7 separate regions of the Homo sapiens genome follow, and regions 1, 2, 4, 5, 6 and 7 are each linked to region 3. The links are contacts of gene promoters, found by promoter capture Hi-C in human tissues and cell types (Jung and others, 2019). All regions are on one chromosome and are shown on one strand. Each heading gives the region's core, a stretch centred on a gene start or on the middle of the fragment in contact. The rest is flanking DNA. Distances are from core to core; before and after follow the strand shown.

Region 1 (2,700 bases), core at 166-2,665, 490 kb before region 3:
AGCTTCTCTGGATGCCCCAGCCCTTGAGATCCTGCTCTTTTCCTTGGCACAGCACTTGAGTCCTACCTACAGGACTCTGGAATGTTCTACAAGGTCCTTATATTATGTTCTATGTATGGAAGCCTGAACACCCCACAGAGGGGTTACCCCCTCATCTCTCCCACAGCGTCCTTGAGCAAGGGTTGAGTGTATGAGATAAACAGGACCATAAAATTTCAGGCTGTGCAGGAGGCAGCTGCAATGCGTGCCAAGGCTCTAAGCCTGGGGGAGGGGTGGGATGGTGGGGGGCAGAGAACAAGGGACAGAGTGTCAGGCTGGTGTCACAGGCCTTTACCTAATTGCTGCATGAAGACACGCGCCACCTTCTCAGGCAGAATCCTGCGGGTATGGATGAAGCGAGACAGGTCGCCCCCTGCGCAAAACTCCATGATGAGGTAGATATTGTCACTGTCCCACTGTGTTTAGAGGCAGAGAGGCGGCCTGAAGAGAGTGTCCCTTCTCCAGCTCCCTTTGGCAGCGGCCCCGCCCCAGGCTCACACCTGAAAGTCTTTCAGCTGCACAATGTGGGGATGTCGAATGCCCTTGAGGATCTCAATCTCCGTGAGGAGGTTCTCCACCGATGCCTTGTTCAGACTTTTCTTGGCTACACACTTTATGGCTACCACTTCACGAGTGTCCTTCTGCGAGACAGGAGATTTGGGGACTCTGCCTTGAGGGGGCCAGGACCCTTGTCTGACTGGAAAGGCTCTATCTGGTTCCCTCTGTTCCCCCACCCCGCCCCTCCCCGGGTCTACCTACTGCACACCAGCACCGGGCTTCCCAGCTTTCCCTTGTGAGGCCAGTGAGGAATGCTGATTCTGGAATCCTGGCTTCCCGACACAGCCTCAGCCTGGTCTTCTCCAACCCTCGGCTAGCTGATCCATTTCTTTGCATTCTGGAGTGCTCCCGGCAGAGGCATGTCACTCAGGGTTCTAGAACCGCCCACTCTGCCTCCCAACTGGCTCCAGTCCCAGACTCCTCCCAGCCCACCAGGTAACCTGTTTTGAGCCTGTTCTTCAGCCACTGACCCTGCAGGTGGGTGCAGGTGCGCTCTTTAAGACCTAAGCGTGGCAGTCGGCTCCAACCTCCGCCGAGGGTCAGCTGGGGCGAGGCCGGCCTCCCGCCCCTAACTATTCCCACACTGTCGCTAACCTCTCAGAGTCTCCCCGGCCGGCACCAGCCGAGCTAGCTCGGGCGGGCACGGGGCCATCGGCCGGCACCCACCTTGGCGTAGGCCTTGTACACCGTGGCGTACGTGCCGCTGCCCAGGCGCTCGGTGAGGATGAAGCCGTCCAGGCGCGGGGGACCCCAGCCGGGCCCCGCCATTCCGGCCGCCTGCGCCCGCGCGGGCGCTTCCTCGCTGCGGGCGGCGGTTCCGGCGGGTTGCGGGGCGGGCCGAGCACTGGGTGGCTCCACGCTGCCCCCAGCGCCGCCCGCCGGAAATGCAGCGCGCATCGGGGACGCGGATCCGCCCGGCTCCCGGCGCCCCTCCCCTGTCTCTGGGCCTCGCCGGGTCACGCGCCCCGCCAGTTCCTGCAGGGCCCACGTGGGGATACGGAGGCCCCGCGAGCCTAGAAGTTAACAACGGAGGACGGCCGGCGTGGTCTCCGGGGACTCCTAGCGGGCGCAGAGGCGTCTAGAGATCGCCCACGTGAGGGCGCGGGCGGCGGAGCGGGCGTGTGTGGGGGCGACGGCGTCCGGGAGGCTCCCAGGGCCCCTCCCCAGGACCCGCAGCTCTGAAAGGAGAGCTACTGGCACGAGAAGGCGCCTTTGGAAGAGGCCGCGTTGGCTTCCCAGGCCTCCCAGCTGCTTTTCACTTTTCTGAGGAAGGGCCTTGACCTATTTATTGCATCTTAACTGTCCCCGCTCTCCAATCTTAGCAGCGGCGCCCAGCCCCTAATCCTGTGGGCTGCCCCGTCCTCCCAAGTCCACCAGACATGTGGACCCGTGTTGTCTGAAAATGTTTTTATTTTTACTTAAGCACAAAAATTGAGACGTAACATATACATTTGTACATAGAGGGGAAAAAATACCAGAAAGGAGTTCATAAAACCCCAGCCGCTGCCAGTATCATTCAGTGGCTGGGGCCTGCGGCTGTCTCGGGCCCAGAGCCGGAGGCTAGTTTTGTGGGAAGGCACCCCAGTCCACACACCCACTCGGCAGCCTCGAGGGACAGGGTGCTGGTTTTAAGGGTGGACTCCTACGTGTCCCATCACAGTGACACACCCCCCAGGGTGTGAACCAGACTCCACTGGGTATTAGGGGGCCCTCCGAGAGATGGCTTATCAGTCCCTGCTGAGGGATGCGGTTCTGGACTGGCTGGCCCTGCCCTTCCTGAAAGTCTGGATGCTGCTGATGGGGAGCATGGGCGGGGCAGGTGGCATCTGAGGCAGAGACAAAGGCAGCCGTCCCTCGGTTCGGGGAGGGGGGGGGGTAGTCACAGCAAACAGGGCCAAACCAACCACACCAGGACAGGCAGACCCCACCCTCCTAGAAGACGCTGGACGCTAGGCAGGACAGCTTGGGGTCAGTGTCCTTGGTCCCTTCCAGTCCCCAAATCCCAACCAACGGCATTGTACATTCAGAAAGTCTGAAGAGAGTAAGGCTCAGCAAGGGGAGGGCTCCAGAGGGCTCAAAGTGCCATCCCCTGCAGGAGGGTGC
Region 2 (2,700 bases), core at 194-2,693, 420 kb after region 3:
TACAGTTAATGAACACTTATTAAGCTTTATATTTCTAATAGGTACAATTTTCTGCATGTGTAGTAGATTTCAATAGTTTTTAAAATGTCTTTTGCCGCAGCCCGCAGCTGTGTATAATGCTATTCGCTTAACAGTGGAAAACATGGCAATGACCTGAATCCCCCTGGCTCCCGGGATCCTACCCCCTTAAGTTAAACAAATGAAATAACTTCCACTGTCTTTCCTAATGTCTTAATTCGGTCCTCAGTTAAACTGGCGGTGGGCGCTGCTTTTTTTCCAGGGAAGGATTCTGGAAGACATAGGAGGAGACGCCAGCATTTCGCCCTCCAGCACCTCCTGCGGGCTGTGGTCCGCTTCCGGCCTCACTCGAGCAGACCCCGCCCTCCCAGAGGCCGTTTGTCCAAGTCACGTGATCGTCGAATCTGTTGACCTGGCGCCACCGGAAAAAGAAATTCCCGGGCCCTGGCTTCTTGGCCTGATGGTGAGGCACCAGAGGTGAAGCGAGGCATGGGCTGCTGGAGCGGGAATGAGGGGGCGACAGTGGCTCCGGAAACGGGGGGAGGGTGTCTTCACTGGCCTCTCCGCAAACACAGTGTGTGCGGGTGTGAGGGCTGCAGGTCTGGTAGAGAAGAGTCCACCGCCATCCCGCTCCTGAGACGGGGGCAGGAGTGGGGGGCAGGAGTGGGGGGGCGGGTAAGACAGAGCAGGCCGGCCGGCTTGTGGAGGGCGAGGCAGGCAGATCCCTTGAGCTCAGGAGTTTGAGACCAGACTGGGCAACATGGCAAAACCCCATCTCTACTAAAAATACAAAAAATTAGCTGGGCATGGTGGCACATGCCTGTAGTCCCAGGTAGTTAGGAGGCTAGGGTGGGAGCACTGCTTGAGCCCAGGAAGTAGAGGCTGCAGTGAGCCGAGATCATGATGTCACTGCACTCCAGCCTGGGCAACAGAGTGGGACCCTGTCTCAAAAAATAAAAATAAAGTGGAAGCATCAGTATGCATGATTGAAGTCATGCTTTCCATCTATTTTTTTCCACCTTCCCTTTTTTCTGTCTAAAACATTGTATCTTAAGCTTTTGCCTATGTTATCAAGTACTCATAAGCATTATTTGAATGGTTGTATCATAATCCATTATCTGGACTCATTGTCATTTATCCATCTGCAGTTGCTGGAGATACTGCCCTTTCTGCCACACTCAGTCACCCTTCTGACCTTGCACTGTGTCCAGTTATCTACTAATACCCATACTGGTCATTTAGGACTTAAGAATAGTTATCATAGTTTTTAACATTCCAAAAAGAATGTGTCTTCCTAAAAATAGAATGGCTTGGTGGTTATACTTTTAAAGCAAAATAGACAAAGCCATGTTGAAATTAATGTTTTATTTTCTTCTTGTATCTATTTTCACTTCTCTTGTCATTTTGATGGATAAAGTTTCATTTGGAAGGATTTTTATTTCAAAACAGAAATAGCATATGACATGAGAAGGGGAACTCTGAAAGGTTCAACTTCCTAGTTTACTAAGTTTGTCACAAAAGCTACTGATAGTCAATCATGATTGGCCTGTATTGAAAGTGAGTTAACATTATGTACAACTTAAGCACTATACTTTCTATCCGATACAGAAAAATAGGTGGTGTGTTTGGAAAAGTATTGGGCTAGGAGTCAGGAAGCTTGATTGTTAGTCTCAACCCTGCTTCTTGAGCTGAGCACCCCTAGGCAATAATTCAGCAGCTATTTCTTAAATACCTAAATGAATTTCAGGCTTTGTGGTTGGGCTGGGAATATAGACATAGATACTGCATTCATGATTCTCCAAGCCTCCCTTCTTCACCCCGGCTCACAGTGAGCTTTCTTATGCATTGTGTAAATTTGTCTCCTAACAGGCCCCAACTCTGTCTCCAACCTCCTTCCCAGGGCAGTTGTGAGGATCAGATGAGGGAGAATATGTGTGAAAGCAAATTGTAAATTATTTTAAAATGCAATAAAAATATGATCCATGGAAAATTATTTAAAGATCCTTATTAAAATTATTAAAGATCCTTAGAATTTTAAATAAACAGTACATTAGGCCGGGCATTGTGGCTTAGGAGAGCGCTGGGTCAAATCAGTCCCCTCCAGCTACGCATTGCCTGGAGCTGCTCTCCAAGGACCCCTCAGCCACAGAAGGCGCTGGTCCTCCTACAGTGCTGCCCCACCCCCACCACCACAGCCTCCTGGGGGTGCAGTCAGGGGTGCCCTCCTTCAGGCTCTGCCCCTGCACCCACTCCTACACAACTACTCTCCCTGCCGGCAGCCCCAGAGACCAGATTGGTTTGGGCCTCTGCCTCCGCAGGCCCGAACCACCATCTCTTCTGCTCCCCAGAAAGCCAGCTCCCAGCACACAGGCAGCGTTCCCTCTTCATTCCTCAACACAGAGGGCCCCTCACAACCCTCTCAGCAGATGGTAGAGCTCCCCACGCATCCTCTTAAAGAGGCTTCACCGTTGATGGCCACAAGCCCCACCATGACCTCCTCCCAGGGAGTGAATTTTCTTACATGTCTCCCACCAGAGCAGGGACAAAATAAAACATAAAAGCAGCAGCTGTTAAATTATCAGCAACATTTCCTACTAGGATCAACTCACGGAGTGGGCAGTGTATTCCATTAGGTGGATCAGTGCAGGGGTTAGCAAGCGTTTTCTGTAAAGGGCCGGATGG
Region 3 (2,979 bases), core at 333-2,832:
CCTTGGCCTACCAAAGTGCTATGATTAAAGGTCTTAACATTCTTAAAAAATTTTTTTGACATGGTTTAGGATAGTCTAGTAACTTAACGTACTGTTGTTTTCAACAGGCTAGTGGTTATGATTTGTAAAAGAACTCTTCAGAAATGAGCTCAATTTTACCATGAATTGGGGACACTTTACATTTCTATTTTATAGTGCAGTTTAATTGTCATGGGCTCTGTCTTTTAAAAACCTGAAAGCCTGCAACAATAAAACCAGCTGCACCTGTTGCATGGGATAGGCATGGAATTGAGGAGAGAGCTCAAACTACAGTCAGCCCTCTGTATCCTGAGGTTCTGGATCCTTGGATTTAACCAACTGTGCATCGAAAATATTTGGAAAAAGTAAAACAATAAAAAAACACAGGTCGGGTGCAGTGGCGGGCGCCTGTAGTCCCAGCTACTCGGGAGGCTGAGGCAGGAGAATGGCGTGAACCCGGGTGGCAGAGCTGGCAGCGAGTGGAGATCGCGCCACTGCACTCCAGCCTGGGCAACAGAGCAAGACTCCGTCTCAAAAAAAAAAATTAAAAAACTTTATAACAGCTATTTACAAAGCATTTACGTTGTATTAGGTATTATAGTAATCTAGAGATGATTTAAAGTATACGGAAGGATGTGCACAGGTTATTTGCAAATACTATGCCATATTATATCAGGGACTTGAGTATCTGTGAATTTTGGTATCTCTGGGGTCCTGGAACCAACATCCTGAGGTTACCAAAGGACGACTGTATTCAATTTTGTCTCTGGTTATTAGTCTATTCTCAAATGTATTTTTCTTGTTGTTTTGTCTTTTTGTTTTTGCCTCTTCAAGTCAATGTCGGAAACTTAGTTGTTCTAGACTACCCATTAGCTCAGAGCTACCAGTAATCAGACTACCACTGCAACCTAAGCAACCGATTTTTCTTCCCCATCAGACTGGCAAAAATTAAGATAAGCATCTATTGATGTTGAAGCTGTAGGGAGTTTTCCTGAGCAAGTAATTATGACAGCCCTTTTTGCTAGGCACCTAGATGATTCATCAAAATGAAATAAAATACCCATGCACTTGAAGAAGTTATCTGGTTTATTTCCTTACCTGGGTGCTGGTTATGTGAGGTGTACAGTTGATGAAAACTTATTAAGCTTTATAATAGGTACAATTTTCTGTATGTGTAGTAGACGTCAATAGTTTTTAAAATGTCTTTTGCCACAGCCCGCAGCTGTGAATAATGCTATTCGCTTAACAGTGGAAAACGTGTCAATGACCTGAAACACCCTGGCTCCCGGGATCCTACCCCCTTAAGTTAAACAAATGAAATAACTTCCACTGTCTTTCCTAATGTCTTAATTCGGTCCTCAGTTAAACTGGCGGTTGGCGCCAGTTTTTTCCAGGGAAGGATTCTGGGAGACGGAGGAGGAGACGCCAGCATTTCGCCCCCTGCACCTCCAGCGGGCTGCGGTCCGCTCCCGGCCTCACTCGAGCAGGCCCCGCCCTCCCAGAGGCAGTTAGTCCAAGTCACGTGATCGTCGACTCAGCTGACCCTGCGGGACCGGAAAAAGAAATTCCCGGGCCCTGGCTTCTTGGCGCGATGGTGAGGCACTAGGGGCGAAGCGAGGCTTGGGCTGCTGGAGCGGGAATGAGGGGGCGCCAAGTGGCTCCGGAAACTGGGGGAGGTTGTACTGGCCTCTCCGCAAACACAGTGTGTGCGGGCGTGAGGGCTGTGAGTCTGGTAGGGAAAAGTCCACCACTCTCCCGCTCCCGAGACGGGGGCGGGGGTACGGGGCGGGTAAGACAGAGCAGGCCGGCCGGCTTAGAGTCCCGGTGCTTCCCTGGCGGAAGGAAGGGCCCCTGCCTCCCGGGGCAGGAACTAGGGCTTGTCTGGAGCTGGGAGTCCTTTCAGGTCTTCCCCATCCCCAAGAGGACCTCCCAAGGATACCCCCTTCCCCAGCCCTGCCGTGGGGCTTGTACAAGAAGGTGCTTAGAATCAGGCTCACTCTTCCACACTGTTAGGAAGCCCCTCCGCTCTTTCCAGAGCCAGAAAGTAGTAGTTTTGGGGTTGAGACTTATCCATCCATCCATCCAATCCATCCATCCGTACGTTCTAAGCGCCTGGTCTATACCATGAAGTGTGCTAGGCACTGGGAGGACTTGAGCTGCCAAGGGAAGGGGAAATCGGAGGCTTGAATTGGAGTCATAGCTAAGGCTCCAGGGGCAGAGACCTAACTGCGCCTTGTGTGTAGTGCTAAGGGGGCTTCCTAAGGATGCCATCAAACTTAAAGGCGGATGGATGGCAGGAGCTGGCTGGCTGAAGTACAGTTTGTGTACCAGGGGTAGGGAGGCAAGGGTGGGAGACGTGTGTCTTCAGACAGGGAACAGCATGTGCAGAGACTTCAGGTTAGAGAGAGTATGGCTCCCCAGGAATGGATGCATTTCCCATAGCTGGGAGAGTATCATCTGCAGGTTAGGGAAAGATGAGGCTGGACAAGTAGAGAACAAATCTTCCTGGCTCTTGGATCACCACAATCAAGATAATGAACGTATCCACTGGCCTCCATAATTTCCTTGTGTGAGGGGCTATTTTAAGAAGTATAATCAAGAAAGGCTGTTCTGGCTGGGTGCGGTGGCTCATGCCTGTAATCCTAGCACTTTGGGAGAGTGAAGAGGGTGGATCACCTGAGGTCAGGAGTTCGAGACCAGCATGGCCATGGCACTCCAGCCTGGGCAACAGAGGGAGACTCTGTCTTATTTTTTTATTTTTTAAAAAAAGAAGGGCTGGTCTGATGTGTCACTTAAAGGATAGCAAGCCACTGGCCAGGCGCCGTGGCTCACGCCTGTAATCCCAGCACTTTGGGAGGCTGAGGGGGACGGATCACTTGAGGTCAGGAGTTCAAGACCAGCCTGGCTAACATAGTGAAACTCTGTCTCTACTAAAAATACAAAATTAGCCGAGTGTGGTGG
Region 4 (2,992 bases), core at 363-2,862, 310 kb after region 3:
GAGTCGGATCCACTCACTGAACCAGTGAAACTGGGTTTTGGAGCCAGAGGTCTGGGAACCATGTCCCTCAAAACAGCCAAAGGTATCCATCTTTAGCAGAACTACCTTGTACCAGTTAATCTGCAATAAGTGACTAGGGAGAGAATGAAGGGAAGATCTAGCTAGACAGGGTAGACAAGACTCCAGGGTATAGCCAGGAAAGGGAGTCCTCCTGAAGCCTTTGCCTCATCTTAGGCACTTCCTCCTTCAGGAAGCTTTCCTTGATCCTTGCTCTACCCAGGCTGGGGTAGGTACCCTCATGTGCACTTTTCATGGCACTAACTAGTCACACTGGGCAGGGAGCATTTGTCTACTTGTCACAACATATCTGAGCTTTTGGAAAATAAGGATAATGTCTTATTTGTCTTTGTAGCTCAGGGGCCTGGTGCAGAGTAGGTACTCAGTTAATGTTTCTTGAGTGCATGACTTGGCTGAATGAATGACTGAGACAGAATGGATTGATTAAAGACAAGAGAGGGTGGACTGTAAGCCCCCCAGGATAGAAACCCCGACTGCCTTGTGGTGTACTACTCCCCAGTGCCCAGCACAGTGCCTAGCAGAATCAATGCCCAAAGTGTTCCCGATATGCTGACCGAGGGTCAGATCCCACTTGCCTCTTCTCGAAGATTCTCTACCTGACCACTTCTCTCCTTGCTGCCGCTGGCTAGCACAGAACATCCAGTCCCCGCTGCTGTACTAAGCAACACGGAACCGGGTGGCACCTAGACTTGTTCCCTGTCGCTGCAGATGTAGAGTAGTGTCTTTCCCTCCTTCCAAGCTAGTCGCCCAGGGCAGGGTCGCCCTGTCTGGCTAGGGTGCTGCACCCGCAGCTCTCGGTATCTTAGGTCAGACGCCTGGAACGCGCAGGCCGTTTCTGTTCCTCCGGAAAACAATCTCTGAGCTGCGCCACGACCCGTCCCTGCGGAGCAGGAGTGGGGAATGGGAAGGTGGGAAGGCGAGTCCGCGACTCTGCTCCCCAACCCCAGCTGGCGCGGCGGCTTTCCACGCACCCCCCTCCCCCCACCCCGATCTCCCGATCCTGGCTCTGGCGCGGTGCTCCTTGCAGCCCCACGCTTTGCAAACTTTCGGAGTTTTACTCCATTTGCGTCACGGAAAAGGCAGGAGGATGACGGAGTCCAGGAAGCGAGGCAGCGGCAGCTGGCAAGCTCCCCCGCCGGGCGCTCCAACCACGGGGGCGTGAGGTGTCTCCCGGCGAGGGCGGACAGGCGGAGGGAGAGGAGGGGAGGTGGCGGTCCCAGGGACCAGCCCCGGAGGCTCTCGGGCCCCCTCGTTCCCGGGTCGTTTCCTCCCTCTCGCCTCCCGGACTGAGCGCCAGCGAGCGAGGGCGCTGGCCAGCTGGGAAGCCGCGCGGAGGAGTAGGCGGGGGCTCGGCTGCAGCGCCCCGGGCCCGCGGGAGGGCGGAGCTGGCCGTCCCTGCCCCGCCGGGACGCACGGAAGTGCAGCGGAGTTTGCCCGATTCTCCAGCCTGCTTCCCCCTCCCTCCTCCCTCTCCCCACCCCTCACCTCCCCTTTGGCGATCCCCTCCTTCCTCAGGACGCCACCTCCCGGAATCGCCTTTTTGTTTTGGAGCTGCCTTCTCGCTGGCGGAGCGGAGGGTCTGCGAGCGCCGGGGAAGGCAGGCTGGGGGCGCAGCCCGCCCCCCACTGGCCGGGCCCCGCAGGGCGGAGAGGAGGACGGACGGACAGACGGCTGGCCGCGCCATCTGCTCGCCGGAGCTCACTCTCCAAACTCCAAACTGTTGAGTGTGTGCGTGCACGCGAGGGTGGTGATCGGGGGTCGTAAGTCCCGGGTGAGGAACCGGTTTCTGCTGGGGTTACCTTTGGACGGGGTTCCTGGGATTCAGAGCAGGGTCAGCGTCAGGCTCAGAAACTGCTGAGGAATTAGGCAAACAAAAGAGACCACTCAGCGAGTGGCTAGAAGTCGCCCGACAGCCTCGTCGCGCCCCCTCCTTCCTCCGGGGTTGGGGCTGGCCACTTCTGGGGCGGGGAGAGGGCGCCCGAGCCGGCGGGGGCTCCGGCTGCGCAGCCGGGGTCGAAGAGTTGGCGGCCTGTTGTGTAAGCCTCAGTCCTTGTTTTCCCGGCCTGGCTCGTTGTGAAGCCGGACACATCCACCCTTGGACTCGATTCAGGCGGCTGCTGCTTTTCTCCTTGCCCCTCTTGGATTTTCCGGATTTTTGAAAACCCAGTGGCCCAGGAGCAAGAGGAGGAAGGAGGAAGGGGCAGATCTGCAGAGGAATGTGAGAGCCTCCCAAAGCGAGAGCCGCCAAAAGAATCTGGGAGCCAGAGGGACAGCCGAGCCCTGCCCGGGTTTCTGGAATGGTGGTTTCAGAGTGAGTCTCTTCTATTTTAGAACGTTGTTCCAGTGGAAAGTGTCGAATTTTTCCCCTCGCAGGGCAGATTTCTCCAGGTCACTTGACTTTTCTTCTGGGAGTAGGAGTTAGGAGAGATTCCCCTCTAACCCCCCAGAGGCTGCTAAGGGAGGAGGAGACTGTGGACATGAGCCCTCCCTGCTCACAAGCATATGCCCGGAGACCTGATAGGGCAGTTTCTGGGCCATGGACATTGCTTTGAAGAGGGGGAGACTGGACAGCATCTGTGGGTGCTGAGACCCCACCTTAGGACCTGAGAGATTGAACTGTGTAAGCGCCATTCAGCTGCGAGTGCATTCTTGGACTGCCTTGTGAGCATCCCCGGTCTGGGCAGGACCCTCTCCTTCCCATCTTTCTATACCACCCAGCCCAGCCATGGCACTGAAAGGCCGAGCCCTCTATGACTTTCACAGTGAGAACAAGGAGGAAATCAGCATCCAGCAGGATGAGGACCTGGTCATCTTTAGCGAGACCTCACTGGATGGCTGGCTGCAGGGCCAGAACAGCCGTGGGGAGACAGGGCTCTTTCCTGCCTCTTATGTGGAGATCGTCCGTTCTGGCATC
Region 5 (2,700 bases), core at 133-2,632, 370 kb before region 3:
AAACAGTGAAAATGGGAGCTGTCAGGCTTTGTAAGGCCTAGACCTAGATGTCACACATTATCATGTCCTCTACATTCCATTGGTCAAACCAAGATACATGTCTAGACCAGATTCAAGGGATAAGGAAATAAACTGTACCTCTTGGTGAAAGGCCTGACATGTATATACAGGAATGGGAGGAACTGTTGACAGCCATCTCTGCAGACAATCTACCACATGAACTAACTCATGTGTTTTTGTTTTTTGTTTTTGAGATGGAGTCTCGCCCTGTCGCCTAGGTTGGAGTGCAATGGCACGATCTCGGCTCACTGCAACCTCCGCCTCCCAGGTTCAAGCGATTCTTCTTCCTCAGCCTCCCAAGGAGCTGAGATTGCAGGTGCCCGCCACCACGCCTGGCTAATTTTTTTTTTTTTTTTTTTTTTTTTTTTTTTTGAGACGGAGTCTCGCTCTGTCGCCCAGGCTGGAGTGCAGTGGTGGAGTCTTGGCTCACTGCAAGCTCCGCCTCCTGGGTTCACGCCATTCTCCTGCCTCAGCCTCCAGAGTAGCTGGAACTACAGGTGCCTGCCACCACGCCTGGCTAATTTTTTTTTGTATTTTTAGTAGAGATGGGGTTTCATCATGTTGGCCAGGCTGGTCTCAAACGCCTGACCTTGTGATCTGCTGGCCTCAGCCTCCCAAAGTGCTGGGATTACAGGCGTGAGACACTGCGCCTGGCCTAGCTCATGCTTTTAAATAACGTATCTGTAGCTCAGTTTAGCCCAAGGTTGCAACTTCCTTTTTTTTTTTTTTTGAGACAGAGTATCTCTCTGTCGCCAGCCTGGAGTGCAGTGACCTGATCTCAGCTCACTGCAACTTCCATCTCCTGGGTTCAAGCAATTCCCTGCCTCAGCCTCCCAAGTAGCTAGGATTACAGGCGCCCACCACCATGCCTGGCTAATTTTTGTATATATATATTTTTTAGTAGAGACGGGGTTTCACCATCTTGGCCAGGCTAGTCTTGAACTCCTGACCTTGTGATCCACCTGCCTCAGCCTCCCAAAGTGCTGGGATTACAGGCGTGAGCCACCACACCCAGCCTCCTTTTATTTTTTTAATTTAAATTTTATTTTTTTGAGACAGAATCTTGCTGTGACGCCCAGGCTGGAGTGTAGTGGAGCAATCAGGGCTCACTGCAAACTCTGCCTCCTGAGTTCAAGCAATTCTCCTGTCTCAGCCTCCCGAGTAACTGGGATTGCAAGTGCCCACCACCACACCAGCTAATTTTTTGTATTTTTTGTATTTTTTTTTTTTTTAGTAGAGTAGGGGTTTTACCATGTTGGCCAGGCTGGTCTCGAACTCCTGACCTCAGGAGATTTGCCCGCCTCGGCCTCCCAAAGTGCTGGGATTACAGGTGTGAGCCACCGTGCCCGGCCATGCCCAACTAATTTTTGTGTTTTGTTTGTAGAGACGGGGTTTTGCCATGTTGACCAGTCTGGTCACAAACTCCTGGCCTCAAGTGATCCACCCGCCTCAGCCTCCCAAAGTGTTGGGATTACAGGCATGAGTAACCATGCCCAGCACAACTTTTTTTTTTTTTTTTTAAGACAAGGTCTCACTGCTGTCACCCAGGCAGGTGTGCAGTGGCACTATCACAGCTCATTGCAGACTCAACCTCTCAGGCTCAGGTGATCCTCCCACCTCATTTTTAGATTTTTTTTTTTTTTTTTTGTAGGGATGGGGTCTTACTATGTTGCCCAGGCTGGTCTGGAACTCCTGGGCTCAAGCAATACTCCTGCCTCGGTCTCTTAAAGTGTTGGGATTACAGGCGTGAGCCACTGCTCTGGGCCAAGGTTGCAACTTCTACTTGAAACTTTCAGGGAATTCACCTGGAAATGCAGGGGCTTTTTTTTTTTTTTTTTTTTTTTTTTTTTTTTTGAGACAGAGTCTCACTTTGCTGCCCAGGCTGGAGTGCGGTGGTGCGATCTTGGCTCACTGAAACCTCTGCCTCCCAGGTTCAAGCGATTCTCCTGCCTCAGCCTCCCAAGTAGCTGGGACTATAGGTGTGCACCACCATGCCTGGCTAATTTTGTATTTTTAGTAGAGACGAGGTTTCACCATGTTGGCCAGGCTGGTCTCGACCTCTTGACCTCAGGTGATCCTACTTTGGGATTGTTTCCACCCATCAGCCTGAATCCCAAAGCTGCCTAGTTCCTAACCTGAAGGGAAGAAGGCCAGGTGATTGGCTGGGTGCAGTGACTCACACTTGTAATCCCAGCACTTTGGGAGGCCAAGGCAGGCGGATCACCTGAGGTCAGGAGTTCGAGACCAGCCTGGCCAACATGGCGAAACCCCCCATCTCTACTAATAATAATAAAAAAAATTAGCCAGAAAAGAAGACCAGGTGATTAATGAGATCTCTTTATTTTATTTTTAGAGGGAGTCTCACTTTGTCACCCAGGCTGGAGTGCAGTGGTGCAATCTCGGCTCACTGCAACCTCTGCCTCCTGGGTTCAACTGATTCTTCTGCCACAGCCTCCCTAGTAGCTGGGATTACAGGCACATGCCACCACAGCCTTTTAGTAGAGACAGGGTTTCCCCATGTTGGCCAGGCTGGTCTCAAACTTCTGACCTCAAGTGATCTGCCCTCCTCGGCCTCCCAAAGTGCTGGGAATACAGGCGTGAGCACCGCGCCTGGCCTATTTTATTTTATTTTATTTTTTT
Region 6 (2,781 bases), core at 243-2,742, 280 kb after region 3:
GAGATTTCTGCCTTATACACCTTTTTTGTTTTTAAAGAGAACTTTTTTTTTTACGGACCGTAGGTGTATGCCACTGTGCCCAGCTTATACAGCTTTCTCAGAAGCCAGGCCTTTCTCCAGTTCCTGTCTAACTTTCAAAAAAGGTCACTTAGTTTACAATTTAATATATTTTATTTATTTGTTTCCCTTTATCGTTATCTTGTTTTAAAACAACACATGCTAGAAAGTTTGGGAAACTGAAAAGAAAAAAAAAGAATCTTTTGGAACCTAATTGTTTCAAAGTGATTTGGAAATACCACATAACCTCCCACATTTGATTTCTTCAATGCTAAGGCAGGAATTCAACCACTGAGGCAGTGAAACCAACACAGCTGGTTTCTCTTAAACACATACATGTTCATGCTCATTATAAAAAGGCACACACCAGAGAGAACATATGAAAGCACAATGGTCTTTTATCTCGAGAATAAAAGAGCTGGTATATTTGTACATGTGTGAAAGAAAGTCTGTCTGTGGTTATTTCCTGAACATTGTTTGTAATCACAAGAGAAGAAAACTGCCCAGATGCCCATCAGGAGGGACTGGCTTGATGGCATTATGAAGTATCCATTCCACGGAATACCTAGCACCACGAAAAAGGAATGATGTGGTACTTTATGAACTGATATAGAATTTCTCCCCCAAAACACCACTAAATAAATGTGCAGAACAGTATATAGTATACTGCTACTTGTGTTAAAAAAAAAAAAAAAAAAAAAAAAAAAAGCCAGGTGCAGTGGCTCCTGCCTGTAATCCCAGCCCTCTGGGAGGGTGAATTGGCCAGATCACTTGAGCTCAGGAGTTCAAGACCAGCTTGGGCAACATGGTGAAATTGTGTTTCTACCAAAAATAAAAAAATTAGCTGGGTGTGGTGGCCTGCACCAGTGGTCCCAGCTACTTGAGGGGCTGAGGTTGCAGTGAGCCAAGATCATGCCACAGTACTCAGCCTGGGAGATAGAGTCAAAAAAAAAAAAAGCTTTTGTACACATACTACCACACACACTTGCTCATATATGTATAGAATATCTTCGGAAGGGCCAGGCGTAGTGGCTGACGTCTGAAATCCCAGCACTTTGGGAGGTCAAGGTGGGAGGATCAGTTGAGCCTAGGAGTTCAAGATCAGCCTGAGCAATATAGGGAGACCCTGTTCCTACAAAATATAAAAAAATTAGCCAGGTGCTATGGAGTGTGCCTGTAGTCCCACCTACTTCAGAGGCTGAGGTGGGAGGATCACCTGAGCCTGAGAGGTTGAGGCTGCAGTGAGCCGGGATCTGCACACTCCAGCCCGAACAACACAGTGACACCCTGTCTAAAATATATATATATTTGGAAGGATACACCAGAAACTAATAATATAGGAGAGGAACTGGATAGCTAGGGGACAGAAATGGGAAGACCTCACCATATACTCTTCTATTTATTTTATTTATTTATTTATTTATTTGAGAGAGTCTAGCTGTGTTGCCCAGGCTGGAGTGCAATGGCGCGATTTCGGCTCACTGCAACCTCCACCTCCCGGGTTCAAGTGATTCTCCTGTCTCAGCCTCCCGAGTAGCTGGGACTACAGGCACGCACCACCATGTCGGGCTAATTTTTGTATTTTTAGTAGAGACAAGTTTTCGCCATGTTGGTCAGGCCAGTCTCGAACTCCTGACCTCAGGTGATCCACCCACCTCGGCCACCCAAAGTGCTGGGATTACAGGCGTCAGCCACCATGCCCGGCCTCTTATGTATATTTTAAATTTTCAACCATACAAATGTATTACCTATTCAAAGATAACTACATTTTTAAAAATGGGGAGAGGAATGATCTGGGAATGTATTCTGCAAGCCACCCAGAGCCACAGGGAACCATCTCTGCCAAACACAACCAGTGATGCAACACTGGGCAAAATGCAGACTGTATGGAAACTATGCAGCTGTTAGTAGTTTCTTCTGATCCCTAATTCCTTAATTTATGACCCAGAAGAGGCCCATGCTGCATTGAGAATACAAGGATCGGCCCTGCCTTCAGAGTAGCTCAGCCTCAAACACTCTTATCCTGCCCTCTTTCCCTGTTTGCACATCTTGGCACTTAGAATTAAGTATATGGAAGACATTTCCTCAGATTCCCTTAGGAATTATTTGTCTTGAACTCCCAAGAGTGCCACAGAAACATTTGGGCTGAAGGCAGATGGGAAGACCACACCAATACCAGCATTCAGAGTGCAGAAGCCAAACACAAGCATCCCAGGAAATGTGGGGAGTGAAAGTCTGGGCGTGGCTTTCGCAAGTTCCTAAACCACAGAGCTCAGTACAGCTGCCAGGAAAAAAAGAAAAACTTAACCAAATAATTGAGCTTTTGGTTTCAAACTTCGGTGTCTCCCTAATTCCTCATCTTCTCCTAAGCTCTGGGTATAAAAGAAACCTACCTCTGCCAGGATTTACCCCTCCCAACCTGTGGGCAAGAAGATCAGCCTACAAAGAGTCTACTTTGAAGGGAGAGTCTGTAGAGACAAGCCTAGAGCCTTCGGAATGGTTCATAGCTCCTAGCCCAGAGAAAGAAGACAAGGAGTTAAAGCTTCCTTACGATTTCTGCAGTTCCAGTAACCTCCGGCGGCGCTCACTCTGCTCCAAGGAACTGTACTTGGACTTGTACTGGGATAGGCGGGGGTGTGGGGCAGCTGTGCTGTTCAGATCTTGAGACACAGAAAAGCTACTAGCCAGGGCCTGACTCAACTCTTCCATCTTCCCTACAAAGGA
Region 7 (2,709 bases), core at 210-2,709, 450 kb before region 3:
GGGGCGGCTGGCCAGGCGGGGGGCTGTCATGAGTCTTGTATTATCCATTTTATTATTCCTTAGTGCATGGTAAAGCTTCCTTTAAAATGCAAGCTGATTTATTTGAGCCAGAGGACCCCAGGGGAGGTGAGATAGATACCCACACCTGGGCAGAGGATTACAGGGAAAACGGCACCCGCTCTTTCCCCTGGGCACATATGGTAGAGGCTGTGGGAATGAGGGTATTGCAGGGGTGATGAGGGTAGAGTCAGGACTGTAACTCCTCATTCCAGGTTCCCCGGAGCTTTGACTGTTGTGCTCCTAGCCTCAAGCAATCCTTCTGCCTCTGCCTCCTAAGGTGCTAGGATTACAGGCCTGAGCCACTGACTGTCCTCCTCCTAGGAGGCTGTTGACTGAGAAGGTCTGGATGTCAAAGCCTTTCACCACAGGATATAGCCAAGATTACTGCAGAGCCAAGGCCCAAGGCCATCCTTCCCTATGCACAGCTCTTCGTAATTCCCCTGACTTCTGTGTGTGCAACTTGTAAGCAGCTCAGCCTGGAGTAGAAGTTGGGGTTCTGACTTTCTACAGCACCTGGGACGGGAAGGATCAGAGGAGCACAGGGAGCTGACTGCCTTATAGGTGTCTCACGTCATCCCATCTGACCCTCCAACAAGCATGTCAGGCTGGCATTATTCACCCCATTCTACAAAGCTCAGAGCAGTGAAGGGCCTTGCATGTGACATTTACCATCATCATCACTAGTATGTCCCTACTCACATCACAGCAATTCTTTGCTCAAATCTGTAATTGCTGAGACTCGAAGTAAAACCCAAAGTCTTCACAATAGCAATAGCCTGCAAAGCTCTGCCCCCCTCCTCTCTTCTCTGACCTCCTCACTGCCCCTGTCTTACTCACTCTGCTCCAGCCACAGTGGCCTCCTTGCTAGCAGTTCCCTCCCCAACACGCCCGGCACAGTCCCACATTCCCGCCTTGCTCTGGCTTCCGCTGTGGCTGTTTCCTCCCCGCAGAACACTCCTGCCTTCCTCACCGCCAAGTCTGGACTCAAACCTCACCTCCTCAAGAGGCTTGCCCAGACAGCCTTTTATATTCTGCAAACTGCCTCCCACTGCCACCTGCCCCCTTACTTTTTGTGGCCTTGACCTTTCAACATACTACATGATTTGCTTACAATACTTGTCTGTCTTGCCTTCACCAGAATGTAAGCGCTCTACAAAGGCAGAGGGAAGGCTATCTTGCTCTCTGATGTATCCTCCAGCCCTTAGAACAGTCCGTGGTACTTAGCAGGTTTTCAGTACATCTGTGCCCGGCGATGGAAAGAATGAATGAATAGTGAGACCGAAGATCGCGGCCGTAAGCCTCTGGGCACGGGTGCCCCGGGGCCTGGCGGAACGCTCAGGGAACTACATTTCCCGTGAAGCTCTGGGCGCAGAGGGCCGCGGGGGCTGCCGGGAAAGGCATACGTGCTTAATCCTGGTGCAGGGGGCGAGCATGGCCGCTCCGCGAGGTGAGCCATTGGCTGGGGTGTCGGCGAGTGTGTTCGTGGAGCGCGTCCTGGGGACGACTCCCGGCATTATCGGCCAGGTTGAGTCCGCTCCTGGCATTCCGCGGAAAGATGGGTGGGTGCCGGGCAGAGGTGTGGCCACCTGCGATGGGGATTGACCTCCGAGGGGAGGGGGCCCTTCTAGACGTCGTGCCGTGGGATAGGTACCTTCTGCTCCCTCCCCGCCACCCTGCCTCAGATCAGCACAAGGTCCTTACTGCTGCCCATCTGACAGTTGGGAACATCGAGGCCTGCAGCGGAGGGGGGTCTCATCCAACAGCCTACAAAACCCTTATTTGACTCTGTCCCCAGTGAGCACCCCCAGCTCTTGCCTGGTTTCCCGGGACACTAGGGTGGGGCCTGAGGAGTGGAGTGGCAGCTGACCCTGTCTGTGCCCCTAGTATTCCCACTTTCCTGTGCGGTGCAGCAGTATGCCTGGGGGAAGATGGGTTCCAACAGCGAAGTGGCGCGGCTGTTGGCCAGCAGTGATCCACTGGCCCAGATCGCAGAGGACAAGCCTTATGCAGAGGTGAGCCCCGGGCTGTATTTCAGCCCACTTTACCCGCAGGTCAGGAGAAAGGGCCTGAGGCAAGTCATAAGAATCAGCTGGGAAGGGTGAGGCAGCAAGGAGGGAGGAGACCCACTTGGCTCTTCAGGCTAATGGACTAGATAGTGTTATCAAAAAGAAGAGAGGTTTTGTCATAATAGGCTGGGATTTCCAGCACTCTCCTTCCCCCAACCACTCTTAGCACTTAGTGAATTTTAATTCAGCCCTCTTTGACAATTAAGTTTTTTTACTTTGACTATTTTTTTGCATTTTTATTAACCTAAAATATTTCTCCTGCCTATTTAGTGGAGAAAAAGCCAAAGCATAGGAAGGCTTTCGCCTCTGCTTCTGAAACTGGAAGATGTATGTTAACCCCTGAAAGAATCATTTAAGAGTCATAGTTTTTCTGCTACCTTGACAGTGCAGATGTCATTCTCCTCTTTGGACAGACAAAGAAGATACATCTAAAGAAGGGAAATAACTAGTCCAAGTCTTCATAGATGGCTAGAGGCCGAGTCTGGACAAGGGCCTGGGTCTACTGCCTCCCTGTATGTCCATGATGGCATGAACATTTGTATCCAGACCTGGGAGGCCTTTCCCAGGACTCAGTTGCCCTGTG

Evidence for each region. Contacts are between HindIII fragments. The study calls those that stand out against the background at their distance.
Region 1: a contact is called between the fragment with the promoter of ULK3 here and the fragment with the promoter of COMMD4 in region 3, in 3 of the 25 tissues and cell types used here (dorsolateral prefrontal cortex, lymphoblastoid cells and pancreas).
Region 2: a contact is called between a fragment that was not itself captured here and the fragment with the promoter of COMMD4 in region 3, in 2 of the 25 tissues and cell types used here (lymphoblastoid cells and spleen).
Region 4: the fragment with the promoter of SNX33 here is called in contact with the fragment with the promoter of COMMD4 in region 3 in 2 of the 25 tissues and cell types used here (lymphoblastoid cells and spleen).
Region 5: a fragment that was not itself captured here is called in contact with the fragment with the promoter of COMMD4 in region 3 in 3 of the 25 tissues and cell types used here (adrenal gland, lymphoblastoid cells and stomach).
Region 6: a fragment that was not itself captured here is called in contact with the fragment with the promoter of COMMD4 in region 3 in 1 of the 25 tissues and cell types used here (lymphoblastoid cells).
Region 7: a contact is called between the fragment with the promoter of MPI here and the fragment with the promoter of COMMD4 in region 3, in 1 of the 25 tissues and cell types used here (heart right ventricle).

Annotation. Positions count from the first base shown.
Region 1 is chr15:74,841,741-74,844,440 of GRCh38, forward strand. ULK3 (unc-51 like kinase 3) reads right to left here and starts at 1,416. Exons shown (of 16, transcript NM_001099436.4): 1 at 1,264-1,416; 2 at 540-680; 3 at 335-455. The coding sequence starts at 1,365. It overlaps SCAMP2 (secretory carrier membrane protein 2), which reads right to left. Exons shown (of 9, transcript NM_005697.5): 9 at 1,990-2,700. RefSeq lists enhancers at 410-935, 1,004-1,915 and a silencer at 1,178-1,897. The HindIII fragment of the contact is 11,414 bases long and covers 1-2,700 here.
Region 2 is chr15:75,758,133-75,760,832 of GRCh38, forward strand. LOC101929408 (a long non-coding RNA gene) reads left to right here and starts at 410. Exons shown (of 4, transcript XR_932487.3): 1 at 410-495. The HindIII fragment of the contact is 5,413 bases long and covers 1-2,700 here.
Region 3 is chr15:75,334,481-75,337,459 of GRCh38, forward strand. COMMD4 (COMM domain containing 4) reads left to right here and starts at 1,583. Exons shown (of 8, transcript NM_017828.5): 1 at 1,583-1,612. The coding sequence starts at 1,610. RefSeq lists enhancers at 1,417-1,466, 1,807-1,976. The HindIII fragment of the contact is 27,503 bases long and covers 1-2,979 here.
Region 4 is chr15:75,646,300-75,649,291 of GRCh38, forward strand. SNX33 (sorting nexin 33) reads left to right here and starts at 1,613. Exons shown (of 2, transcript NM_153271.2): 1 at 1,613-2,992. The coding sequence starts at 2,804. RefSeq lists a silencer at 1,232-1,771 and an enhancer at 1,397-2,088. The HindIII fragment of the contact is 33,754 bases long and covers 1-2,992 here.
Region 5 is chr15:74,967,744-74,970,443 of GRCh38, forward strand. No RefSeq gene overlaps it. Among named protein-coding and RNA genes, the nearest start is that of RPP25, 12 kb to the left of the region's middle. The HindIII fragment of the contact is 5,742 bases long and covers 1-2,700 here.
Region 6 is chr15:75,618,286-75,621,066 of GRCh38, forward strand. It overlaps SNUPN (snurportin 1), which reads right to left. Exons shown (of 9, transcript NM_005701.4): 2 at 2,609-2,771. The coding sequence starts at 2,766. Among named protein-coding and RNA genes, the nearest start is that of SNUPN, 6.0 kb to the right of the region's middle. The HindIII fragment of the contact is 5,240 bases long and covers 1-2,781 here.
Region 7 is chr15:74,888,583-74,891,291 of GRCh38, forward strand. MPI (mannose phosphate isomerase) reads left to right here and starts at 1,460. Exons shown (of 8, transcript NM_002435.3): 1 at 1,460-1,507; 2 at 1,945-2,072. The coding sequence starts at 1,492. RefSeq lists enhancers at 1,077-1,126, 1,287-1,586, 1,376-1,909, 1,707-1,786. The HindIII fragment of the contact is 15,781 bases long and covers 1-2,709 here.